5 separate regions of the Homo sapiens genome follow, and regions 2, 3, 4 and 5 are each linked to region 1. Evidence: promoter capture Hi-C in 16 types of primary human blood cells and fetal thymus (Javierre and others, 2016). All regions are on one chromosome and are shown on one strand. Each heading gives the region's core, a stretch centred on a gene start or on the middle of the fragment in contact. The rest is flanking DNA. Distances are from core to core; before and after follow the strand shown.

What was found. Contacts are between HindIII fragments. The CHiCAGO score rates a contact against its expected background, and 5 or more counts as called.
Region 2: a fragment that was not itself captured here is called in contact with the fragment with the promoter of PIGC in region 1 in 16 of 17 cell types (total B cells, naive B cells, naive CD8 T cells and 13 more); the score reaches 15.3 in total B cells.
Region 3: a fragment that was not itself captured here is called in contact with the fragment with the promoter of PIGC in region 1 in 1 of 17 cell types (naive B cells); the score reaches 5.0 in naive B cells.
Region 4: a fragment that was not itself captured here is called in contact with the fragment with the promoter of PIGC in region 1 in 4 of 17 cell types (total B cells, naive B cells, total CD8 T cells and 1 more); the score reaches 7.4 in total B cells.
Region 5: a fragment that was not itself captured here is called in contact with the fragment with the promoter of PIGC in region 1 in 1 of 17 cell types (total CD8 T cells); the score reaches 5.2 in total CD8 T cells.

Annotation. Positions count from the first base shown.
Region 1 is chr1:172,442,471-172,446,343 of GRCh38, reverse strand. PIGC (phosphatidylinositol glycan anchor biosynthesis class C) reads left to right here and starts at 2,275. Exons shown (of 2, transcript NM_153747.2): 1 at 2,275-2,356; 2 at 3,514-3,873. The coding sequence starts at 3,722. C1orf105 (chromosome 1 open reading frame 105) reads right to left here. Exons shown (of 7, transcript NM_139240.4): 2 at 1,186-1,271. RefSeq lists enhancers at 1,887-2,196, 1,920-2,443. The HindIII fragment of the contact is 3,601 bases long and covers 1,681-3,873 here.
Region 2 is chr1:171,798,299-171,802,027 of GRCh38, reverse strand. It overlaps the pseudogene RPS15P3. Among named protein-coding and RNA genes, the nearest start is that of METTL13, 19 kb to the right of the region's middle. The HindIII fragment of the contact is 1,617 bases long and covers 1,335-2,951 here.
Region 3 is chr1:171,815,079-171,818,566 of GRCh38, reverse strand. No RefSeq gene overlaps it. Among named protein-coding and RNA genes, the nearest start is that of DNM3, 25 kb to the left of the region's middle. RefSeq lists enhancers at 1-558, 559-1,545. The HindIII fragment of the contact is 6,424 bases long and covers 1-3,488 here.
Region 4 is chr1:171,774,587-171,778,490 of GRCh38, reverse strand. No RefSeq gene overlaps it. Among named protein-coding and RNA genes, the nearest start is that of METTL13, 5.1 kb to the left of the region's middle. The HindIII fragment of the contact is 4,827 bases long and covers 1-3,904 here.
Region 5 is chr1:171,744,819-171,748,309 of GRCh38, reverse strand. No RefSeq gene overlaps it. Among named protein-coding and RNA genes, the nearest start is that of VAMP4, 4.5 kb to the right of the region's middle. The HindIII fragment of the contact is 1,621 bases long and covers 1,351-2,971 here.

The DNA.
Region 1 (3,873 bases), core at 1,026-3,525:
CTCAATTAAAATATGCTAGACTGTCCTTACTCGTGCTGATCCATGCAGTGTTAACAACTCTTAATAAGCACTCTATCACTTAGTACTTTTGTTTCTTAAATAGGCCTTTGAGTTTATTGAACCTCTGATAATCTGCTTTCGTTATATTCAAAATTATGTAAAAATAACACAACTGAATAACGAGCACTTGAAAGCACTTGTGAATTTTGTTCTGAAAATACTAAAACCGTCTACCTATTTACTGAGAATGAGATTTTTTTTTAATGTACAGTAGACAAAGCAAAGGTACATGTTACTAAAGTGGGGATGTGGAGACAGTGATGGGAATTTGCTTATGAAGTCACTTATCCATGGGCAGGAGGGTACATGGTAGTTATCAACAGGAGGAGAAACTCTTTTTGGGGAGTCTGGCTTTTCTAACGAGCTGTTTCGAATGCCAAGGAGTCATTCCTTTTTAGTCTGTCGTGTGCCTTTGGAATGGCCTCTATGCCTGCCCTTTCTCTTTCTCTCTGCCCTCTTTCTGGTTTCTCTCATTCACCCCAACACTACCTCACACCTACCCTTCTGTCCATGTCCCCTTCCCAGAGTGGGGTTTATCACTACACTTAGGAACCATTTCATCAAAAATGGAGAAGGGACACGGTAACCCAATTATTTCAAGAGACAGTTGAAATGCTCCCTAGATATGTAATTCCTGCAATTTTGAAAAATAGATTTATGTGTCATATAGTAGTTTGTTTGGAAGGAGTAGGACTAACAGGAATGTAGGAGGGTGCCTCAAAGTTACATACAGAGTTACTATTCTATAAAGATGGGAACTTACTGTTCTAGACTTTTGATGGTAAAAATGTGAAAATTTCAGACTACAGCAGTGGAGAAAATGTGGGGTGAGAAAGAGGATGGAAGTGTTTTGAGAGACAGTGTCTAGGGGAAAAATTATCTTATACTGTTGAGTGGTAGTGGTGGAGAGGGAAAAATTTTGAGATCTCATCTCCTCTAGCCAGGCCTATACTCAGTGATCATTTTTTTCTGAGAAACCCGGATTATTTCTATTTTTAAAGCACTTGACTTGAGTTTCTCAATGGATCAAATGTGCCCTCTGATAATTGTCCCCATCCCTTAAGAAGAAATCATCTTCTGTGAGATGTTTCGTAAAACTTTTGCCCTCGGTGGCTGAGAGGTTACCTTCTGGGAAGGCTGAGCACTAATGGCTTGTTTACAAGGCTGGCCTCACTAAGCCAAGGAATCTTGTCAAATTTTGGAACAGAAGCCTAGAGGGAAATAGAGAACATTTTACAGAATATATCACACTTAAACATTGCTATCATTACGATGGCCAAAGTCAGCTAATAGCAGCCATATAGTGAACACTTTACAAACCATTTTTATATTTAACTCTTTAACCATCCTATAAAGTAGCCAAGTGCAAATAATGTCATCTCCATTTTACTGATGAAGAAATCAAAGCTCAGGTAGTGTGATTTGCCTTGAGTCACTGAGCTAGTAAATGGGTCATGTTTTCTGACTTTTATTTCCACTGTATCCTGTGTTTTACTACATCCCTTTGTTTCTTTATTACTTCCTTCTGTTTATATATCCTTTAATATTTCCATGAACTCAGTTTAATTAGCAATCTTGTCCTCACTTCTTTTAGGAGGTAAAGAGGAAAAAAACCAAGCTTTGAAGCTATAGACAACTGGATATTGATCTCTGTTCATCTACTTCCCAGGTGCCTGTCTTTGGACAAATACAACTTATCTGAGCCTTAGATTTGTCCTCTTTGAGGGGGGAGATGATATAATCAGTGTAAAGGTCAATGCACCAAAAAAGAGAGTTTCATGAGAGCAGCAATTTTTGTGTGTTTCATTCACGGCTGTATCATGAGCACCCCAAGCATGGCTTGTTACATGCAGGCATTCAATCAGTATCTGTGGAATGAACGCATGGATGCACGGGAAGTCCCAGCTGAGGGCCTGACTTAATAAAGGAGCGCAACAAAAGCGGCCATTATCTCTCACCTACTGGCCCAGCCTCTTTCCTTGTCCTCTCTTGCCTTACCCAGTCCTTCAGATGGCACATCCCATCTTTCAATAGGGGATTGCTGGGGATTTGCCTTCCTAGGCTCAGAGCATTCGGGTTTGGGCCAGTCTCCAGGAGAGGAGACCGGAGGTCCTTCGAGCAGCCAGGAGGGGGCAGCAGTCACGTCGCGATGGTTCCAGCCGGGGAAGGGTGCCCTCGCTAAGGAGATTGCGGCGGACCCGGAAGTGCTTGGCCACAGTCGCAGCCCCGGCGCCCCGAAGCGGGAAAAAGGCTGGGTGCCGCCGTCCCCCAGCTGCGCAACCCTAGGAACTCTCGGGTAGGTGGGTTCCGTGTAACGGTCAGTGTTTCCGGGGCTCCTTTTCCTCTGCTGCCTCCCGCAGACCCAAGGCTGAGTGAGGGGCGGCGGCGGAAGTGGGAGGCCCACCCAAAAAGCCAAATGGGGTGCCAGAAGAGTGAAGGCGCACCCTGGGGTCACCCTACCCTACCCCGTCCCCTCCCAGCCCCACTCTGCGGGCGGGCGCTGCCCTTTTGGGCGTCGCAGACCCTCCAACCCCGGCGGCGGCCTTAAGATTCCCGGGCTGGGATCCCTGCTGCAGAGGGGGTAACGGTGTCTGGCTTGCCAAGCAATATTTGTTGTGGTCTATCATGGAAGAAATAAAGTCGGGCAATATGAATTTTTTTTTTCTCAAATTTGCCGGATGGCTGTGGTGTTTCTGACTCTTAGTTTTCTCATTGTGAAAAAGGAATGATTATCTTCTTCGATCCTCTCAAGAGTTTCCTTGTTTTGAGTAGATTGATAGCTCTTTAAAGGATGCTAAGCTCAGCTAATGGAAGAAGAGTCTAGTTTCTTTGAGGCTTTGATTTTGGTTAAACTATAGAGCTCATACCTTTCTGTATGGTGCAGCTTACTATTGTCTTTGGATTGGTAACTTAAAAAATACAAATAACATGCCTTTGAGAACCAATAAAAACTATGGATATTATCCCTATAAATTTACACAAATCCAGATATAAGCATGCAATGTGATATACCTAAGGGATATGTGAACCACTGAGTTAAGAACTGCTTTAGAGGGAGATACAATGTGAGACACAGGCTTTGGGATAAGACTTTGGTTTGAATCCTGGCTCTGCTCTGTTACCTTAGGGCAAAGTTACTTAAGCATCTTGAATCTCAGCTTTTTTACCAAAGCAGGACTAATACTAACTTACAAGGTGGTGAGGATTAAGTGAAAGAAGATACATAAGGCACTTAGCACATAGTAGGTACTCAATAAGCGATAGCTAACAGATGTCTATTATTATTCAAGGAATTATAATTTTCAAATCTGAAATGCAGTTTTAATGTCCCATAAGGTGACTACCACATACATTTTTCTCAGACTTTTAGTAAACTGAGTTGATTTGACTTTATCTCAGTACTACTCTTGACCTTTCACAACTTTCGTAGGTTCACAGTCTCTCTTTTTCTAGGAACTTGGCTGTGTTGTCCTGCCTCAGAGACAAATTCATCTATTGTAGGCCTAGCCCCTGCCTTTGAAAACAAGGAAAGGTTGGTAGAACATCAACACAGCATGGAATTTCCAGGGAGGTCTCATTTCAAAACTTCATAAAGAACAAGAACCACCTGGACTTCTGTGAGGGCGATGATTAAACTGGCCTGAGTTTGAATGAAAGGATAATGTATGCTCAACCTGTGACTAACACCAAGGAGGTCAAGTGGCAGAAGGTCTTGTATGAGCGACAGCCCTTTCCTGATAACTATGTGGACCGGCGATTCCTGGAAGAGCTCCGGAAAAACATCCATGCTCGGAAATACCAATATTGGGCTGT
Region 2 (3,729 bases), core at 894-3,393, 640 kb after region 1:
TGACTTACATCTTGGCAGAAAACTTGAAGACATACCAGCTCAGGCCCAGATGCATGTTGTTACATTTTTTTCTTCTTATGTGCCACGAGCTTCATGTCTTACTAGCATTATTCCATTGCTGTATTTCCTGCCATTACTTCTAAAATCAGGGATGTAGGGGTAAAAGGATCTCTGCCTTATACAGGCTTCCACCACTGGAGAAAATGGTGCTGTCTCCATGTGCATGGACAGGAAACAGGTGATGGTGGAAGAGCAGAGGGCATAGGGTACTAGGTGAAGCAAGAGAACAACAAGTAAAGTAGAAGTCTGTCTTCATTGACCAGAGAAAGACACAGGAAATACGGCTCAGGTGAAAGAGCCCCTGGAAGTGCCAGGTTCCCAAGAATTTTTTACAGCCACCCAAGCACTTAAATGTGATTTCTAGTGCCATCTAGTGGGAAGCACAGGAACCAAGTGAGACGTGGGCTAGAAAAACAAAACCATGAGTCCAGCCTTCAGTCACTTTAAGGGGGCAGTTTTTATTGAGGCTGGATTTTTTTGTCTGCCTAGCAAGAGGATCTAAGAAGACTCTAAGCAAACATCTGACCATCTTGTATGCTGCCCTTACACTTTATGCACAGGTGGTTGCTGAAGTCATCCACGTGCTGTGTAATTTGTTCTCCCCAGCTAGTTGGTGAGCAGAAGCTATCTTTCCTCTTTTTATCAACACAAGCACAGTGTCTGGCACAGAACAACCTCTCCAAAAAAATGCCAGTTGGGTATATAAAAAAGAAAAATCCAACTTAATGGTTTTTATTATCGACCATTTAGCTGTTAACAAATCTGCAGGAATCAAATGGCAAGACAAGCCACAAGAGGGAAACTGTATGACTTATGGTTTACTAGACTTTGAGCTTTATTAAGCAGTCCTTAGGAGGTACACTCAGGGCCCAATTATAGCAGGGAGTGAGGCTGCTGTGCCCCATGGAGGAAATCGTCCAATGCAACAAGCTGACTCCTCACACTACTGCCATCACTCAAAGGGCAAAGAGCTAAGGTGTGGGCTAATGTGAAGGTCGGAGGGGAGTATGTTCCAATTACCAAGTGACTGCTGATGTTTGCATTTCAGAGCTAAGCCAGCAGTCATTAATGAGACTAGCTGGCAATTCCTTCCTCCTTACCTTGTGACATATCCATCCACAGAACCTCTTCTCCAGGGGTCCTCAATTTTGGCTGCAAAACAGCATCCATCACCTGGAAAGCTTTTTTAAAATTCTTATGCACAGGCTGCACCCCAGACCAATTAAATCAGAGTCTGTGGGGGTGGGGCCAGGCCTAGGCATTTTTTTAAAGCTTCCCAGATATATTCAATTTCTATGGCTGCTGTAAAGTTACTACAAATTTAGCGGCTTAAAACAACACAAATTCTTATCTTATAGTTCCGTATCAGGAGTCCAAAATGGGTCTCACTGAGCTACATTGAAGGTATTGGTAGAGTTGCACTCCCTGCTGGAAGCTCTAGGGAAGCTCTAGTTTTCTTACCTTCTCCAGCTTCTAGAGGCTGCCCATGTTCCTTAGCTAGTGGCCTATGGTCTTCAAAGCCAGCAATGACTGGTGAGTCTTCCTCACATTGCTTCACTCTTGACACTGAGTCTTCTGCCTGCCTCTTCCACATTTTAAGACCCTTGAGATTACGTGGAGTCCACCCAGTGTCTGTATCTGATTACTCAGAATAATCTCCCTATTTTAAAGACAGCTCATTAGCAACATCAAATCCATCTGCTACATTAATTTCCCTTTGTTGTGTAGTGTAACATAACATTCATAGGTTGCAAGGATTAGGACATGGACATCTTTGGGAGAACATTATTCTGCTTACCATATCCAATGACTCCAATGTGCAGCTGAGAATAACTGCTGGTTCTGCCAGGCACTGTGGCTCATATCTGTAATCCTAGCACTTTGGGAGGCCAAGGCAGGCAGATTGCTTGAGCCCAGCAGTTCGAGACCAGCCTGGACAACATGGTGAAACCCTGTCACTACCAATAACACAAAAATGAGCTGGGCATGGTGGTGTGCGCCTATAGTCCCAGCTACTCAGGAGGCTGAGGCAAGAGGACTGCTTGAGCCTGGGAGGCAGAGGTGGCAGTGAGCCAAAATCATACCACTTCACTCCAGTCTGGACAACAGAGTGAGACCCTGTCTCAAAAAAAAAAAAAAAATAACTACTGGTCTACCCAATCCATAAGAAGACAGACTTAGAGAAGAGGCCCAGTTAGCAGGCAGCCATGACAGAAGACTGGAGGCACACACTGAAAAATTGGTGAGGGACAAGGGCAAAAAGGCAGAGAAGGGCAATAGGCAGGCTTACCAATTTTACATTGTCACAGAACTTTTTTAGGATGGGGGGAGGGGCGAGGGCACAAACTGTCATGTGATTTATTCTCATTCAGTTCTCTGATAGTCCTGGGAAGCTAAATTGTACACTCTCCCAAGGATGATGGGACCATCCCCACTCAGCTGTAGCCATTAAAGAAAATTGAGGTCATAGATAAGACTTTTCCAGACTTTTGTAACTCATTGCTATCAGCTTGCTCCTTGTTTTGTACTCAGAAGCTGGGTGCATGCCAGATTCTCAGGAATTCCATAGGCTATCTCCCCTATAATCTCTCTATGCAAAATAGATTATAACTTGAAAATGTATACTGATTGGCCAACATTTTAATGTCAACACACACACACACACACACACACACACACGCACACACGCACGAGATTTCTGGCTTCTCTTAAAGACCTAGCTATGCTAAGACAGTGCTCCTGCAAGACAGCTCAGCTGGGACAGCCGCTGCCTTTAGAGGGGATATTTATTCTCTGGTTTGCCACAGGTCTCATCCTAGCCTTTTTGTTTTATACCTGGCTCACTCACTCCACATATTTGTTACTTGCTTGGTCTGGTAGGCATTGAAGCTTCTAACCCTCCCCCCTCCTCTAGAGCGCTCACCCCTAAAGTTAGGCAAAATTCCCATAAGGAACCATTTGCTTGTCATTAAGGCAAAAGTGAAAAGCTCTCCAGTGGAAAAGATGGGATTCAGGCCAATGGCTGTCTGTACACACACCACTTTCCTCACAATCCAGCAAGCTCCAGAGGGGAGTCAGACTAGGGTTTGAGTAAGCAGGCTGCAGCCACCAAGTGTTCTGGTGAACACACTGGTCTTCGTTGGTACAAATTTCATTTGTAGGAAATTAAGCCGAAAACTGCCTCACTTCTGTCCCTTGGTCTTTCTCCAGCCTTCAGCACATAACCAATTTCCTTCTTCTTTTATACTTAAGTCTTGATAATCATCACCCATGAGTGTCTCTTCCCACCTCCAAATGTGGGAAGCGACATGTAAATTCGTGCCTCTGTAGACCATTGCCCCTAAGATTTAACTGAGACCTTATTCTGATAACGCCTAGAGCTTGGCCATGCCACCCAAATGTGCTGCTCCAAACTCTGCACAGCATGAGGGTGATCTGACCAAGGACAGGCAGATGAGCTCCTCTGACTCAGACCCTGGGCCTCCATAACCCATCCTGACACTGCACAAGCTCAAGAGAAAAAAAAAAAATAGAGTGGCCAGGCACAGTGGCTCATGCCTGTAATCTCAACACTTTGGGAGGCCAAGGCAGGTGGATGTCTCTACAAAAAATGAGCCAGGTATGGTGGTACATGCTGTAGTCCCAGCTACCTGGAAGGCTGAGAGTTGG
Region 3 (3,488 bases), core at 642-3,141, 630 kb after region 1:
TCCCTTCTCTCTGGCTTTCAGTAAGATGTGGCCAATATAAGGGTCTCCAATGGGAGAGTGGGAGGAGAGTGAAGTGGGTATGTATAACCCTGACTCCATCCCTGTTGGTTCACTGTAAGTTGACTGTGGCCTTAAGATGATGGCCACTGCTCCTCTCAGGTGACTTTCTCCAACTTCTACTCCCCCGTGCTCCAATAGCCACTCTCCCCACTCATGCTTCTTCAGCCAAGTAATGGCTCCCCACACTTGCTTTCTCTGAGACCCTGCACCATCCCTTGCTGGTTTCCCTGAACCCTGCTCACACCCTTGTGAATAGTCTCTCTACCCAGCACCCTTCAATTGCCTACTGTGAATATGCCATATGTCTTACTGGGTTCCTGGGTGATATATGTTAGTCCTGTTCCCACCTTCTAACTCTTGCTCAATCCTCTGAGCTCTAATTCTAAACAGTTGCTTCTCTTGATACCAAATCAAAGGAAAGAGCATCATCATATCACATCAAGCAGCTCCCACTGCCTGTTACCCGTGAGGACCTTCCAGGAGTGCAAAAGCTCCTCACATCCACACTGCTTGGCTCTGCTGGTAAGTTCTGGAGTACAAATGTCTGTACCTGCAGACAGCTGTAGCTTTCTCTCAGTAAACAAATTGGCCCCAGCCACGGAGACATTAGTGGAAACAAGACAGTGACTCATCAGAGAAGCTACAGTCACTTGACCCCCTGTGACTCAGACACATTGTGTTGTCAACAGGGCACTGAGCTGAATAAAAGCTGAATAAACCAATGCTTTGCCTCACCCAGGCTCCTGGCAATCAATGAGTTAAAAAGCACTGAGAATATTAGTCTATTTGCTCCTCCCCTCAAATATCTCTCCTGTGTATCTTCCAACCTTTCTCTGTCATCCCTCCTCTTTCTTCCCCACCCACAAAAAAAAAAAAAAAATTGTTGAAAATGAATCAGATACAGGACACAAGGGTTGCACTTCCAAGATAACAAGCACACGGCCACCAGCCAGCACTGCACTTTGCTTTAATCATTTAGTGGTGCTTGGTATCCACAATTCCAAAAGCCCTGCTTCTCCTGTCTTCCAATTTTAGTCTTAACAAAAGAACACAATTTGAAAAGCCAGTACCCTTAGCTGCCTGGCTTCTGATCCAGTCTCTCTTCCCTAATTATTTCCTTTCTTGGTTGCAACTCCTTCAGCTTTTATAATTTTAAGACCTGTGCCTTTGGCCTGGCCTTGCAAAACTTTGCATATATTAGCTAGATAACTTGTTGAGCATAACATGTTCAATGAAATAACAATAAGCAAGTACCAAGTGTTCAGCATGTACTAAGGCCTTTACTTAGGTTATCCCATTTAATTATTTTAATAACCATGGGAGACTGTGTGTGTGTGTGTGTGTGTGTGTGTGTGTGTTTTACAAATGAGGACAGGCTCAGATGAGTTAAGTGGTTTAGCTATGGCCATGCAGTTACAGTTAATGATGAAAAAAGAATATGAATTTGAATCCAGGTCTATCTATCCCTCGATTCCATAATTTTTACCATTTTCCTACTTCTGTATAGATTTAATTTTCAAAATACAGAGTTCTTCAACTTCAGACAAAAATTCTCAAGAGAAGGCAAAATATGCCATGTTAATTTTTGTAATTAAGTTTAGCACTCATTTATTGAGCACATACTAGGTAACAGGCCATGTGCAATATACCAGAGGCACAAAGGTGGAAAAGATGCCATCTCTGCTTTGAAAGAGCTCACAGTCTACGTATAGAAGAGACACAGCTTCTAAATTTCTTTTAAGTCCCCTGGTTTCCCTTCAGCCCTGGGATTATATAAAAATAATTTTTTGCCTTTGTTTGTGTCAACATCAGAGCTGAAAGATTTCTACTTCTTACTCAGCAACTACAATTAAGACCAGAATAGATGAGCACATTTATGTGTATTTTAGAAAAAGGAAGAAAGGAAAAAGAAAGAAAAAAAAGAAGGGAAGGAGGGAAGGAGGGAGGGAGGAGGGGAGGGGAAGGGAAGGGAGTAGGGAGAAAAGGAAGAATCAGTACATTGGCCTGATTAGTGCTTAAGGAAACAAAGGAACAAATGCTTGAAATCGAAGCTGTCTCCAGAATTCCATGGTATAAGGTCCCTACACCTACATGGCAGGATTCATTCAATAAAAATTTCTTGAACATTTATTATAAGCTATGAATAGAGGCAAAGCGTTCATAGTCAAATGGGTAGAAGGACAAGTTAATCAATAATTACAGCCCAATGTGAGAAAAATCACAGCAGCAGTTCTCATAACACCCCGTGAGAAAACAGGAGAGGAGAATCTAAAGCACACAGGATAGCAGAGAAAGTGAGGATACGGGAAGAAAGTGATATTTGAGCCAAGACCTGAGGTGAAGTGGGAGTTAGCCAAGAGAAAAAGTTGGGAAGAAAACTCCGGAAAGTACACGGGTTAAGCAAAAAACAATGGGGGTAAAAGAACCCCAGGCCTTTTGGTGAGAACCATTGAACACTTGCCTGAAATTCACACCATTAAAGTCACCCCAAATTTTATGTTTTAATTTTTATATGTTTTATTTTATTTATTTAATAATTTTACTTTAAGTTCTGGGATACTTGTGCTGAACGTGCAGGTTTGATAAGTAGGTATACATGTGCCATGGTGGTTTGCTGCACCCATCAACCTTATTTTCATATTTTTAAATAGGTGATACAACCATGGCTCAAAAATTAAAACAATGTGAAAGAGAACCTACTGAAAAACCTTGTTACTGTGCCTGTCTTCGTCCTCCCCATCCTCCCCAGCCCATGCACCTGTCCCCATCCCTTAAGTAACTATTATGAAATAGTCCTTTGTATGTCTTTCCACTGCTTCTTTATGCAAATACAAGTCAATACGACTATATATATGTACATAATTCAAGACTTTCTGAAGGCATATGCGTTTTTTACTACGCTAAAGCATTGTATTACTTGGAGAAAGTAAAATACATATTTTAACGTTCAAAATAATGATTTTCTTGGATTGTTATTGTTGGTAGTCTTCATGGATGGAGTGCCCCCTACATACCATTACAGCTAAGGTCACAACTTCATTTTATAGATGAAGAGAAATGAGACTTAGAAACGTCAAGTAACGTGTCAGGTGCAGACAGCTAGTGAGTGGCAGAACTGGGGTCAGCAGAGGGAGGTGGTGCCCCCTCCTCCAGAATCCTATTTCAGAGAAATGGCCCTACCATTCACCTAATCACTAGAGCCAGAAACCTGAGTCCTTCTCAGCTCACATGAGGTCAATCACCAAGTCCTATTGATCTGAGCCTGTTATTATCTTTCAAATCCATTCCCTCCTCTCCACCCCATCATTGTCTCTCACCTGGTCAAGACCTAGATTTCTGACTGGTCTTTCTCCTCTAGACTGATGTTGCCTCCAATGTAGCCTCCATTCTGCTGCTGGAGTGATCTTTATAACACATAAATCTGATGG
Region 4 (3,904 bases), core at 781-3,280, 670 kb after region 1:
GATGTCTACCTCCTAATCCCCTGAACCGAAACTGTGAAGGTAACAGGTTACAAGGCAAAGAAGAATTAAGGTTGTAGATGCAATTAAGGATGCTAATCAGCTGACATAGCAAGATTATCTAACTGAGCTCAATGTAATCACAGGGTCCTTTTTCATTTTCTTTCTTTTTTTTTTTTTTTTTTTTTGAGACGGAGTCTTACTCTGTTGCCCAGTCTGGAGTGCAGTGGCACGATCTTGGCTCACTGCAACCTCCGCCTCCCAGGTTCAAGCAATTCTCCTGCCTCAGCCTCTTGAGTAGCTACGGATTACAGGCGTGCACACACCCAGCTGATTTTTGTATTTTTAGTAGTCTCACCATGTTGGCCAGGCTGGGCCACAAGGGTCTTTTAAAGTAGAAGAGGGAGAGACAGAAGGGCTTGGCCCAATGTTTCTGGCTTTGAAGATGAAGGAAAGCAGCCATGAACCAAGGAAAGGCGGTGACCTCTAGAACCTGGAAAAGGAAAAGAAATGAATTCTCCTGTAGAGCCTCCAGAAGAAATACGGCCCTATTGACACCTTGATTTTAATTTATTGAGACTTGTCAGACTTCTGACTGATCCAACTGTAAGATAATAAATTTGTATTGCATATAGTACTAGTTTTTGGTAATTTGTTACAGTAGTGATAGGAAACTAATACGGAACATAAACAGAAGAGAGAAAGAGAGAGAGAGAGTATGTGTGGTTGGGGCAGAAGGTCACAGTGGGGAGAAAGCAGCAGAAGATACAACTAGAGGCTGAGGTAAAGGGCAGGTTTTGAGGAGTCTTCTATTCCACATATTTAGCTTCAGCCTGTCAGGCCACAGGAAGTCAACAGAGAAGCAGAGTCATGACAGAAAGACCTGATCTGAGAGATGTTCTCAGGAAAGACTGAGGCACTTGATGACTGATTGAATAGGGGGAATAAAAGACTGAGGGACTCATAAATGACTCCTACATCGGCCTCTGGATGACTGAAGAAATAGTCTGTAGAAAGAAACGGGGAAGGAGAAAGGGGTATTATTTGTAGAACTGTTGCTAGAAAAGAATTTAGAGGTTATCACTCCAGTAAAAACCAGAGCCAGAGCTAAAAGCCAGTCTCCCCACCCTGCATGCCTACCCCAGGGCTCATACCCTTCTCACTTCCTGTCAGTGGTATCCAGTTGGAGTTGGTAGGTCCAACACATGAAAATGTTTCACGAGTGGGATATAAAATTAAGTAAAGGGAATGTCTCTTTGGTGTACAGGGAGTGGCTCATATAATGCTGGAAACTATTTCAAATTGGAAATCATCTTAGCAAATGGGTTTGTTTTCCACATTTGAGAAGTTTAAAAATGAATGTTCTCCTGTATCTTGGGATAATAGAAGGCAGACACAATAACATCCTAGGGTAACATTCTGCCATTTTATTAGCTGAGTGTCAACACTTTTCTTGACGATATTGTTGACCTGAAAAGTGACTATCAAGCTGATATTGGATTCCTAAGATTGGGATGATGATAATAGCTACTTATTTATTTATTTATTTGTTTGTTTGTTTGTTTATATAAGACAGGGTCTCACTGTGTCACCCAGGCTGGAGTGCAGTGGTGCAGTCACAGCTTACTGCAGCCTCGACTTCATGGGCTCAAGTGATCCTTCCACCTCAGTCTCCCAAGTAGCTGGGACTACAGGTACGAGCCTCCATGCCTGGCTAATTTAAAAAAATATATATTTTTGTAGAGACAGGCTCTCCCTATGTTGCCCAGGCTGGTCTCAAACTGCTGACTTCAAGGGATCCTCCCACCTCAGTCTCTCAAAGCGGTAGGATTACAGGTGTAAGCCACCATGCCCAGTGCATCATAGTATTTTTTAGTTTGTATAGCACTTGTGATTGGCCAAGAATTTTTCTCATACACTGAATCCATGGGAAGGAGAGGCTCAGAGCTACAGAGTTAATTTTCACATTGGCAGAGAATCCCTTTGGGTGAATGTGCCAGCCTTGTACAAGATTAACAAATTCGTTTCAACATAGATGATTACACACTGCTTTCTTAAATATATATACCTATACATATATAATTAAGGCAAAATTCCAATTGATTACAAGTAAGTGAAAAAAAAAAGTTATATATGACTGAGCGAATTGAGCCGTGACTGCCTCTGGTATTGTATTTGATTCCCAGGATTTTCTTTGTGCAGTAGTTTCCTACTCTGTCACTAAGGGCGTCTGTTGATGGATTGGTTTCCTCATATGCATGGACTGCAAGGCATTAATATAGGGCATATTATACATTGCAAGTTGTTTGCCTTTGGGGCCAGTAGGCAATAACATTTTGAAAGCTGCAAGACTGGGGAGATGAAGGAATGATGCCAAGGTTAACAGGCTGTGCATGAATACATTTGACCCCTATATGAGGGGGCTCACAAAGCCTCCTTTTGACTGTCTTTGTTTTCTACAGCCTGGATACTGGGAAAAACCACAAGGGTAAGCTATTAGACTGTTTTCTTCATAATTTTATTCCAAACTTCAGTTTCTTTGCAGGAAAAGAAAAACTTGAAAAACATTTTGTTTTTCTCCTACACTCTAGCACTCTAACCCATGACCATCTCATGTATCCCATTTTTATAGATGCTCTCTGTCCTCAGCCCATAACAATATTTTTCTACCACTAAGGGAATGGATTTTAAAACAGCATTTAATAAATAAAATTCACTTGAGTACTCCACCCAGAGGATTTTTTAACGTTCAGATCCAGAGTCCTCAAAGAAACCAGAAAAACAAAACTCCCTTTAGTCCAACAAAAAAGTTATAGTATGTAATACTTCTCTAAAACTAAAACTGTTTTCTTGCCATGGGGCTGCACGAATGACCTTTTCCTAAGAAGAATCACAAATTATGGTGCCAAAACATTTTACTGTTCTTAATTCATCTCATCTTTGAATAGTATATCTTCATCCTCACTGCTGACATACAGTAGAAAAAAAATTTCCACGTGTCAAAATTTCATCCAAGCAGCAGCTCTGATGTTTTTCATTTTTTTAATTTTTAAAAAATTTTAAACAGTTCATCATGTAAGCTCTGGTGTTTGAAGACTCAAAAGAGAAATGTCCTCAGAGAATATGGTATATTTCTGAAGACAGCTGACAGAAGAGGGAACCCTTAGCTAGAAACTATATAGCACAGAAGTTAAGGTTGGGATTTGGAATCAGAATGATCTAGACATGAGCTACCATGCTGGGCTGATTTTTTTTTAATAAGATTTTTTGAACTGAGATATGCTTCACATAAAATTCACCATCTAAAAGTGTACACTGGGCAGGCATGGTGGCTCACACCTGTAATCCCAGATCTTTGGGAGGCTGAAGCAGGAGGATTACTTGAAGCCAGGAGTTCAAAACCAGCCTGGGTAACATAGGGAGACCCTGTCTCTACAAAACAATTTAAAAATTAGCAGGGCATGATGGTGTATGCATATGATCCCAGCTACTTGGGAAGTTGAGGTGGGAGAATCACCAGAGCCTGGGGCTGGCAGGGTTGGGGGTGGGAGTGGCTCAAAACTGCAGTGAGCTGTGATTGTACCGCTACACTCCAGCCTGGGTGACAGAGTGAGACCCTGTCTCAAAACATAAAAAATAAAAAAGTATGCACTTTTGTGTTTTCTAGTACATTCACAATGCTGTGCAATCATTACCACTGTCTAATTCCAGAACATTTCCATCATCCCTACCTCTTAGCAATTAGTCCTATTTTCCCCTCCTTCCTGTTGAAACTGCTTACCTATTTTCTGTCTTTAATAGATGTGCCTATTCTGGATGTTTCGCATGAACAGAATTATATATTATGTGGTCTTTTGTGTCTGACTTCTTCTACTTAGTATAATGTTTTCAAGGTTCATCTTTGTCA
Region 5 (3,491 bases), core at 912-3,411, 700 kb after region 1:
CTTACTGCAACCTCTACCTCTCAGGTTGAAGCGATTCTCCTGCCTCAGCCTCCCGAGTAGCTGGGACTACAGGTGTGTGCCACCACGCCGGGCTAATTTTTTCATATTTTTAGTAGAGATGGAGTTTCACTGTGTTAGCCAGGCTGGTCTCAAACTCCTGACCTCAGGCAATCCGCCCGCCTCGGCCTCCCAAAGTGCTGGGATTACAGGCACGAGCCACCGCGCCCAGCCGCCTAATCTCTATTATAAGGGAAAAGCATGTGATTCATTTAGAGAAAATATTTATCTCAATTTAAGCTTATTGCTCTGCGATATTTTCTAGTGTTCTCAGTTGTACCATTCTCTAACCTTGGACAAATCACACGTCATCTCAGAACCTTGAGGTCTAAATGATAAAATGAGGAAAATGACACTTGATATCAGAGAGGATTTGTGCAGAAACATATGCTAATCATTAAGCATAGTTCTTAAGAAAACAGGCATGAAACCAAGAAAATAAATGGTAACCATTTTTAACTTTCAGAGTAGTAAAATAAATTTGTAACACAATTAGAGCATATTATTATGCAGGTTCTTCTAATGTTGCCATCTTTGTGGGAGGTAATTTCTCCAAGATAAAATTCTTGCAACATGTCACTACCTCAATAAACAAGAACAGTTAGAAGAGAAACAAAGCACCTCCCTGAGACCATCTTATAATGTCACATCTAAAGTTTCATGAGGAAGGCATCAGGGCATTTCCCATATTATTATATATATTAAAAATAATTAAACTATAGTTGAACTTATCTTTAAAAACTAAATTCCTCTTGCTTTGTTACTCATTACTATTTTCTCTGTAGACTATACTCACATTGCAAAGGACATAACTGAGACGGCTGGCAAACTTTGATATGGATGCTTTGATAGAAAATAATATTGTATCAATGTTAAATTTTCTGAATTTGACAACTGAATTACAGTTATGAAGACAATGTTCTTGTTCTTAGGAGATATCTAATGAAGTATTTAGGGGTAAAGAGGCATGATAGCTATAACTAATTTTCAAATAATGCATGCCGAGGGGAGATATAAATTTAAAGAGAAGTAATAAAGCAAACTTAGTGAAATGTTAACAAACCACGTAAACTCTCTGGCACTCTGTTTCTTCATCTACCTGGAGACAAAAAGAGGGCTGAACTATTTTGTTTTTATTCACACTGTCATGAAATCCATTTAGGAGTTGAGGTCAGCATTAGAAAAGCGTTATTAATGAATCTGGATAGAGGATTTAAAAGCATTCAAAATCAAAACTAAAATAAACTAATATCATATTTATATAACACCAAGGCACTCTAAGCATGAAAAGCTTATGGTTAACTACATGATATCTGTATACTTCTTCTCCAAACTAATTGAGTTACATGCTTACAAGAGTCAATTTGCATTTGTACTCCAAAGTATTTATGCCTATTATACTTATAGAATATATTTAAATATGTAAACTAATGAAATACAAATAGAAAGTTATTTTCTATAAAAACTAAATTGATAAACATGAACAACAAACAAAAATTACTATAGAACTAGGCACAGGTAAGACAAACCTGTAAAACTTTGGAGAAAAAATTGTACAAAAATCTAGACTGACTGGGCATTCAAATTGCTTGAAAGGTGTCTTTAACTTCTTATTCCACTTTGAAGAAAATGAAACTGTAAACTGTAAACAATGCAACTTGTAACAAAGACAAAGCAGGTGTTCCAACCAGCAAATTCATGCTCAGATAAAAGGTCTTGGGCCTACTACCAAGACTGGTGAGTGAACATATACATTTGAGTCAAAATAAAATGACTAAAGTATATATTTGCCATTTTTAAATATGTACCACTGTAACTGACTTTTTAAATTAACTGGTCCAGTGGTCCCAATTTTAGGGGAAGAGAGTGCCTCTACCATTGTTTTAATTGAAAAACTGATATACATGGTAAAGATATTCCAATAGTACAAAACACTACACATCAAGAAAGTTTCCCTTCTGTATTAGTCTTCTAGGGCTGCTATAATGAAATACCATGGACTAGGTGGCTTAACTACAGAAATTTATTTTCTCACAGTCCTAGAGGCTAAAAGTCCAGGATCAAGGAGTCATCAGGGTTGGCTTATGGTGTGGCCTCTCTTTCTGGACTGCAAATGGCCATCTTCTGTGTTCTCATATGGCCTCTTCTCTGTGCCCATGCACTCAGACACTAGCCCTACAGGATTAGGGTTTTGCCTTTTTGATTTCATTTAACCTTAATTATTGTCCTAAAGGCCCTATCTCCAAATCTAGTCACACTGGAAGTTAAGACTTCAACATATGAATTTTGAGGGGACATAATTCAGTCCATAACACTTTCCATGCCAGATTCACAGTCCTCCTGGTGTGTGTGTGTGTGTGTGTGTGTGTGTGTGTGTGATGCTCAAATGGAAGTAGAGTCTACACACTATTTTGCACCTTACTTTTCTCACCTTATAGCATCATAGAGGTATTCCATGTCAGCACATATAGATCTATCTAGTTCATTTTAATGGCTGCATACTATTCTATTGAATGGCTAGACTATGACTCATTTCAGCAATTTCCTATTGCTGAACATTTAGAGTTTTTTTTTTCACTCTGTTACAAAAATCCTGTAACAGATATTTTTATAGAATACTTTTATATACAACCTGTATACCCATGGGATAAATTTTAGAAGTAAAATTATTAGATCAAAAAGAACTTCATATAAAATTTTGATACATATAATTACCATGAAATTTTTAAAAATGCACCAATTTTTATACTCTTACTGTTTAAGAATGCTTGTTCCTCCCACGCTGCTCCCATACCACACATACACACACCCAATATTGTAGTATCAAATTTTTTTTATTTTTGCTATTGAGCTAACACAAAAGATCAAACTGTCAAATCAGGCTCAAATCAGAGATTTTACTCAGTATCAAGCTTTACTAATAGTTTCAAGGATACCAGTAATCCCCAGGTCCTTTCTTCTTGCTTTGGATGCATCCTGGCCCAGGACAGTAGATGTGGTTTCTAAATCAAGTGTACAGTCACCCCACTTACACAGAAGGAGCCAAATCAGTTACAAAACACTTCCATTTTATGCTACGTTACATAACTTCCGCGGTATTTTCCAGTTAATCATACCCCTGAAATCCGCATTGATTCTTTTTTGTTTTGTGAGAGGGAGTCTCATTCTGTTGACCAGGATGGAGGGCGGTGGCGCGATCTCTGCTCACTGCAACCTCCGCATCTCCAGTGCAAGCTATTCTTCTGCCTCAGCCTCCTGAGTAGCTGGTGTTACAAGTGTACACCACCACACTCAGCTAATTTTTGTAGTTTTGGTAGAGACGGGGTTTTGCCATGTTGGCCAGGCTGGTAACTCCTGACCTCAAGTGATCCACCTGCCTCAGCCTCCCAAAGTGCTGGAATTACCACATCGATTCTTAATGTGTTTACCATAAA